2 separate regions of the Homo sapiens genome follow, and region 1 is linked to region 2. Evidence: promoter capture Hi-C in 16 types of primary human blood cells and fetal thymus (Javierre and others, 2016). All regions are on one chromosome and are shown on one strand. The core of a region is centred on a gene start or on the middle of the fragment in contact, and the rest is flanking DNA. Distances in the headings are between cores, read along the strand shown. Region 1 holds the start of LOC100996660 (a long non-coding RNA gene). Region 2 holds the start of APPBP2 (amyloid beta precursor protein binding protein 2).

Region 1 (3,886 bases), core at 151-2,650, 390 kb after region 2:
GGTCAGTCGTGGGCGCCCCAGTCCAAGCGCGGCCTCGGAACCGAATGGACAAAGACGACGGGGGCTGGAGACGCGTAGGGATGGCTGCGGCAATTACGGCCCTAGGAGGGGGAGCGCACCGCGCATGGGGACCGTGGACAGGCGGGGCCCCCTGATCCAGTCGGAATGAGGCGCGGGGCTCCCGGTTAGCGACTTGCCTATACACAACGCCCCATCTCCTGAGTTCGCTTTCAAGGCCCACCCACTGTTCCACTCATTCAGCGCTGGGCCATTCCACAGGCAGTTCCCCCGAGCCGGCCAGGTTCCACCTTCTGGCTGTTTCAGCTTCCTGAATTTCTTATCCCACCTGCCCGCAACAGCCTTCTGGACCAGCCTGGCGGGACACAAGGCGAGCCCCTGGTACTTAGGAATGTCCACTAGTCAGGGTCTGCACAGTTGCTGCAGCCAGCCAAACACTTTGTTGGGGACGAAGGAGAGGGATCTCTGGTGACTGGGGAGAGCCCAGGTCCAGCTTTTGGGGGCTAGGGAGCTACACTGTGGAGGGAGCCACACCCTGTCCTCTGGGTGACCAGTGAGGACTATACTCACTGTGCACCAACAATGTCAGATATTTCTTTCCTGGACGCCCAGGAAGTTCTCCTCAGACCAGAACTTAGTCCCCGCTTTCCAGCAGCTGCTCAAAATATATAGTCTCTTGGCCAGGCACGGTGGCTCATGTCTGTAATACCAGCATTTTTGGGAGGACAAGGCAGGAGGATGGCTTGGCCAGGAGTTCCAGACCAGCCTGAGCAAGACAGTGAGACCTTATCTCTACAGAAAAAAAAAAAAAAAAAAAAAAGCTAGGCCTGGTGGTGCATGCCTGTAGTCCTAGCTACTCAAGAAGCTGAGATAGGAGGATCATTTGAGCCCAGGGGTTTGCAGCTGTAGTGAGCTGTGTTCATGCCACTGTACTCCAGCCTGGGTGACAGAGGAAGACCCTGTCTCTATAAAAAATTATATATAATATTATATATTACATATAATCTTAGCAGGAGGGGTGGCTGAAAGCAGGCCTGGGTAGGTTTTGTAAAGAATGAGTTCACTGGACTCCTCTGCAAAACTCTACCTGTGGAACCCAGAGCCAAGGCCTTGCCACTCCCTCCCCACTGGGTAAGGCACAAGTGGCAAGTGGGCCAAGGATAAGTGGTAGGGGGACACGAGGGTGTCCAGCCTGTTAAAATGGTCACTGCAGATGTCATGCTGGCCTGGGAGCAGTAGAGCTTGGAAAACATCTGCTGCTGCCTGCCTGCCCTGATGGTCCCAGAGATAGGGTGAGGAGTAAATGATTCAGGGCAGGACCCCACAGCTGATCAGCTGATGGCTTGGTTGGGCACAGCAGATTCAATTTTTGCCTTTTTTTTTAAAATATACAGAGTCTTGCTCTGTTGCCCAGGATAGACTGCAGTGGTATGATCTCAGCTCACTGCAACCTCCACCTCCCGGGTTCAAGCAATTCTGTGCTTCAGCCTCCCGAGTAGCTGGGACTACAGGCTCGCACCACACGCCTGGCTAATTTTTTGTATTTTTAGTACAGATGGGGTTTTGCCATGTTGGCCAGGCTCGTCTCGAACTCCTGGCTTCACGTGATCCGCCTGCCTCGGCCTCCCAAAGTGCTGGGATTACAGGTGTGAGCCACCACGCCCAGTCTAGCAGATTCAATTTTTAACAATCTTCCTTCTCTGTCCCACCTTGGAGCCCTCCTGATTTTGTCTGTTTATCTGGTAGGGCCTGCTGTGCTCCTTGCGGATGTGACCAAAGCTCTGAAGCACAGGGTCCCCGCCTGATCTTCCCTTGCCTCTCAAATGTGGCACCCTCCTTCAGCTTGTATATCTGGGCTTCATGTTCTGAGGCAGGAAACTGGATATTGCTGAGGTACAGCCACTCAGCTGGGACCACAGAAGGCAGAAGAGGAGAGTTAGAAACAGGAGAGGACATAAAGTGGGCACCTTCTCATCAAGGACTGGCGCCTAGCCTGGGAGGCCTCCTTCCTGCTGAATATAATCACAATAACACAATAATAACAGTAGCTCCCAATTCTTGCCCATTTACTATATGTCTCTGCCAGGCATGCTGCAAGTGAGTTATATCCATCATTTCATTTAATCCTTTCAGCAATCTGTGAGGTATGTGCTGTGATGATGTTCATTTATACACATGGTGCTGGTAGAAGTTAAATTACCCAGACCACACTGCCAGAAACAGCTAGGATTCCGGCACAGGCCTTCTGACTTCAGATGCCTCTCAGATGCTTTCCTGGCCTTGCAGGGGTTTTTCTCTGTGGTGCTTCAATGCCCCATGGAGCACGACCTCTCTGATGACCTCAAGACAAAACTCTGCAAAAGAACCCCAGCAGGGTATCAGGCTGGAGGAGTGTGTGTCGGGGGGGGGGGGGGGGCGGGTGTGCATGTGTAGAGGGTGATTAGGTGCATTCTGGATAAATCAGAGTGCCAAGAGGGACTCCCCCAAACTTCCAAGGTCCTTTCAGGGTTGGACAGCCAGGAGAAGGTGGCTTCCTCAAGAAAAGAGGTACTGCTGGAGCCTGTCCGCCCTGGCTCCTTTCAGATCTGTGGGTAAAAGGCAGCCAGTGGCTGAGCTGGGAGTTCAAGAGGAGCACAGGAGCATGCAGGCCTACAAGTCTGTCTCCTTCCTGTCTGCTGATGAGAGCAGCTTGATGAGAGTACAGCTCCTCCCTGGGGATCTCAGAGTCTGATGGAAGTGACATAGTTTATAACTAGGGGCACAAGGACCATGCCTGTTTCTCATAGGGGACCCAGCACCAGGGCAGTGCCAGATACACAACGGGAGCACAATACATATTTGTGGATGGACAATGCTCATTTTTATTTTTCTTATGCCTCAGTTTCCCCGGCGATGGTGTCCTGGACTGAAGAGACTGACTGGAGTGCATGTTACTGCCGACAAAGTTTCAGAACACCGGCCAGCGCAAGACCACCGACATCAGACTGAGATACAACGGCAGCGATCCTGGATTTGCAGGGCCAGGATAAACAAGGGACTGTAGAGACCATTTTGTCCCATTCATTAATTTTTAGGCAGAACACAGATCTAGAGAGAATAGATGACTTGCCCCAAGCTACCCCGCGAAGGAGGAGGAGGGCCACGGATAAATAGTGTGCTTCGAGAATCTTAACTCTTCGGGGTCAACCTCTCCTTCTACGCCAAGGAAACAGGATCTTCCTGCAACCCCCCGAGACAACCACCGAACAGTCACCCAACTTAGCACTAGGGCCCAGACGTTCCGTCGATCGAATGTACCACGCTCGATTTCTAGGTCTTTAGCACAACGCAGGATAAGTCGATTGGTCGTCCCTGCCGGTCGCTGCTGAGCGCTGATTGGCTCCGGCTTGGGAAGCGGCAGAAAAGGCCGGCGTGTGGGGCGGGCCTGGGGAAGGGACTCCCGCGGCCCTAAGGTGCTGGCGGGCGTTTGGCGTTGCAGCTGTGTGGGCGCTGGTGCGTGCGAGTAGCGCTCGAAGAAACCCAAAGGCGTCGTGGGGCTGCCGTGTGCCCCAGAGAGCACTGCAGGCCGGGTAGGGGCTAAGGCTCCCCGCAGTCTTCTGTGTGTCGTCCAGTACGCAGTTGAAATCGTTCTCCAACCTGGCCAGTCCTCCGAGGCCCTTCTCAGGCGACCAGACTCTGTTAACAGAGTCCATTGCTAAAACTCCTCGTTAGTATTTACCACTCCTCCAGTCTGTGTTTTGAAGCAGTGGTTTTCAACCACTGCCCGTTTTCAGAAGAAATCATCTCAAGCGTCCGTGTGCTGCTAGAAGCCGGGCCGGGAGGTCTTGGTGCCGGACTCCACCCTGCAGCCCTTCCCTTTCGCCACCGC
Region 2 (3,781 bases), core at 76-2,575:
GATCCTGGCTCACTGCAAGCTCCGCCTCCCGGGTTCACGCCATTCTCCTGCCTCAGCCTCCCGAGTAGCTGGGACTACAGGCGCCCGCCACCACGGGCTAATTTTTTGTATTTTTAGTAAAGACGGGGTTTCACCGTGTTAGCCAGGATGGTCTCGATCTCCTGACCTCGTGATCCACCCGCCTCGGCCTCCCAAGTGCTGAGATTACAGGTGTGAGCCACCGCGCCCAGCCTTGTAGTTTTTTACTTGCTAAACTGGCAATCTGATCTTGAGGCCATCCACAGCTTTCCTAGGTTCACAGTATAGAGTAAGAATTTATATAGACTGAAGAAGATTAAGAGTGTTTATTTTTTGTGGAATTATTTAACCACTTAACACTGAAGTACCAGGTGAAGGGTAAATTGAAATAACTCTTTCCACTTCTTTTAGCTCTAAATATCAATCAGGACATTATTATTATGGCTGTTTTCTGGACTTACATCGTTATAGAGTGACTATGAGTTTGATAGTGTCACCAACAATTATGGCCAATAATTTCCATGGTAAATTCCTAGAACAGAAAGATGTTGCATCAAATTCTTGAAATCGCAGACTTAGGAAATTAAGTTACATAAACAGCAGATGTTCAGGCTGAGGAAGGAAAGAAGCTGAAACAAGTACTCCCAATTATTCAACAATCCCTTGAAGCCGCCACTGTAACTCTGGGAATTGAAATACCATTAAGTCCTATCACGGCCACCACTTAGCCTTTTTTCTCTTACTATTATTTGTAATTCCATAATCAAGCTAGTTTTCCTACGAAGTTCTGGGGCAGGAGTTTTCTTTTTTCGGAAATTTCATTTGGATAAAGAAACATGGTCAAAAAGTTACAACGGTGCAAATGGTTATACAAAGAAAAACAAGTCTCTCTTCTATCGTTACCCCTAGTTCCTGGACCGCGGGTTCTTAACTTGGGTTAGGAACTGCAGTCTAAGGGTTTCTAGAGTAATGTGAATTTTCTCAATGCATAATTTTCAATGTACAGATAATTTTGCTCGTTTGTGGGGAGAGGATCCAAACTTTTACCTGAGCCTCAAAAGGGTCCGTGATGCAGAGAACCTGCTGAAGTAACCGATGGCCCCGAGTGACTCGGAACAGGGGGCGCAGATATCCTGTAATAATTTGTCCCCGTGTGAAAAGTCTACCCCTATCCACTCCACTCCACTCCACTCCGGGGCCGCTTGGAAGGGACGCTCTCCGTGGGAGGCATCCAGCTCTTCCTAAGTTTTCCGCCTGCCGCATTCCTCCCCTCCGGCGCGCCGGCGTGCGCTTACGTCATGACGCCGCACACGCAGCCCCGCCCCTGCAGAGATCAGCGCTGGGACGGAACCCGGGTTCCTCTCGAACCGGGATTGTGACGCTTTTGGCCTGGCTGGCCGCTGTTTTCTGTCCCACTTTTTACTCGGGCCTGCGTCCGCTGCCGCCGTCCCTCAGTTTGCCCCCGGAGGAGGCAGGGCGGCCGTGCCTTCTGCCGTGCGCCCGCGTGGCTGCCACCGCCCCTCCGAATCCTCCGGGGCCGCAGAGGGGTTCGCTACGGAGGGAGGTGGGGGCCTTCGGGAGGAGGAGGCGGAGGAGGCGGAGGAGGAGGGAAGGAAGATGGCGGCCGTGGAACTAGAGTGGATCCCAGAGACTCTCTATAACACCGCCATCTCCGCTGTCGTGGACAACTACATCCGCTCCCGCCGAGACATCCGCTCCTTGCCCGAGAACATCCAGTTTGATGTTTACTACAAGGTATGCGCCGTGGGCCTCCTCTCTGCTCTCCTCCAGCAACCCCGGGGGCCGCACCCCCTTCCACGTCTGCGAACCCCCGCAGTTAACCCCTCACCCCTTCCGGCAGACTTGCCTCCCGAAACGTCTGGTGCGGTGTCTGCATTGCCAGTGGAGAAGCACCCCATCTCCCTATGCCCTGTCTCTTAAGCTTTGGGGCCTTGAAGTAATCTTGGGGAGTCTTGCTCCCTGTTGGTGTTCCCTTCTACACAGTGGCCCTCTTGGGTAGGCCTTTTGCGTGGACTTACTCTATCGCGCCCCTGTCCCACCTAGTCCTTTCCTTCTAGCCCGTATCTTCAGGATATTTTCCATCCTCTCCTTCCAATTAAGTGTCAGCATCAGCTGGACTTTTTTCCGTGCTCCTCCCCCCACCCATTCCTACTTTCTCATCTCGCCGCCTTCCTTCCCCGAGTGTTTTGGTGTTTTTGCTTCGTGTTCCTTCGTTTCTCCTTTCTTTTCCCAATTGGGAAGGAGTTAGGGATTATTGGAAATAATCTGTGTGTTTTATTTGCATATTCTTTAAAGCTTTGATTTTTTTGTGGGAGAGGAGGGGCTCTATACTTGAATTAGGGATTTTGTGAAAATGGGAGTGCTGATCAACTGTTTGAAGAGGACAGGGAGAGATCTTTACTGAAAGAAAAAAACACTTTAGATTATGTTCCTGTGTTTGAAAGTTGCAATCTTGCAGCATTCTTAAATCACTCCCCCTCAAAAATCTGAACAGCAAGTCTCCCAAGCCACTCTCCAAGGAGTTTCAAGGGTAAGTGTCCTTAGATGTGGACTATTTTTGCAGTGTTTTCAGAGTGTGGAGAACTTTATGGACTCAGAGCCTGCCCTTTTCTCTCCCCCACATTTGAATGTGAACACTGGATTTATTATTCAGTCTTCCTTGTCTTGAATCCGCGTCGATAACTCCTAGTGTCCAGTAGCCACCCATGCAAAATGTGACTAAAAGTAGAATGTAATTTATTTTTTAGACCTTAAATACTTCCTCTTGATCTGTAAGTTGGCTGGAACAGTGTAAACTGATATTTTAACAGATGTTTATGTTCTTACGTATGTACAGTGTTTTGTGGCAGTTGTTTTATTGGGAAGATTGCCTGCTTTCTCCACCCCTAGATTTTTTTTTTTTTTTTTTTTTTTTTTTCAGAATTAGCAGTTGATGGGCTGCGTTCTACTAAATCCAGCTGCTTTGCACCAATTCTAACAATTAAAGTGGGGTTTCCCCCCTAAATATTTGGAGAAGATTCATTTAGGTCATGCGTATTATTATTTTGGATTTCGAGAAAAAGCTCCCTTTTTTCCTAATCCCTTTGATACATTGATTTACTTTTGTGTATTCTAAGGAAATTTTGTTCATTTAAGATACATTCCTCCCCAGGAAGGACAAATTAGATTTGTCTTTCTCAGCCTGGGAAACTGCAGCTTTGTGTGTGCTCTCTGTCCATTTTATTAAATCATGTGTAATCTTGTACCTCATATGTAATCTCTCAGAGGAAATCATTGGGAATGTAATCCAAGTGTATTTACTAGTTGAATTCGTTCAAAATACTTGAATATCTTTTAGTAACTTTCACTTCTAATTGAAGCTTTTCATTTGAAGATTATTAGTATGAATAGATGGTGCTTTTGTTAGAATTTCTGTTTCACATAGTTCACACAGTTTTAATATTGCTCCTTTTTGGTACACTTTTACTTCTTAATAGTTGTATGCTTATTGGGAGTATGGCACTGTGCTAAGATGAGGGAAGTGTTAAACATGTGCCTGTAACTATGTTGTGCTTTTATGTGTTATTTTGTTTAATCTTCAGAATTAAACTGTGAAGTAGAGTACAGTATAACCTTGCTTTATTGGTGAGAAAGTTAAGTAATTTAATTAAGGTCTCAAACCTGATATTTAGTTCCTGAGTTCCTTGCTCTTTTACTTAGATATCTATCTTAAGATAGTAGATTATTTTAATGAAAGATATTA

The links. Contacts are between HindIII fragments. The CHiCAGO score rates a contact against its expected background, and 5 or more counts as called.
Region 1: a fragment that was not itself captured here is called in contact with the fragment with the promoter of APPBP2 in region 2 in 2 of 17 cell types (fetal thymus and erythroblasts); the score reaches 6.0 in fetal thymus.

The regions. Positions count from the first base shown.
Region 1 is chr17:60,135,241-60,139,126 of GRCh38, reverse strand. LOC100996660 (a long non-coding RNA gene) reads left to right here and starts at 3,483. Exons shown (of 3, transcript NR_187530.1): 1 at 3,483-3,886. RefSeq lists enhancers at 1-71, 3,542-3,641, 3,752-3,811. The HindIII fragment of the contact is 5,598 bases long and covers 1-3,886 here.
Region 2 is chr17:60,523,786-60,527,566 of GRCh38, reverse strand. It overlaps APPBP2 (amyloid beta precursor protein binding protein 2), which reads left to right and starts at 1,325. Exons shown (of 13, transcript NM_006380.5): 1 at 1,325-1,773. The coding sequence starts at 1,636. RefSeq lists a silencer at 1,496-1,635 and enhancers at 1,716-1,985, 1,706-2,414. The HindIII fragment of the contact is 8,801 bases long and covers 1-1,962 here.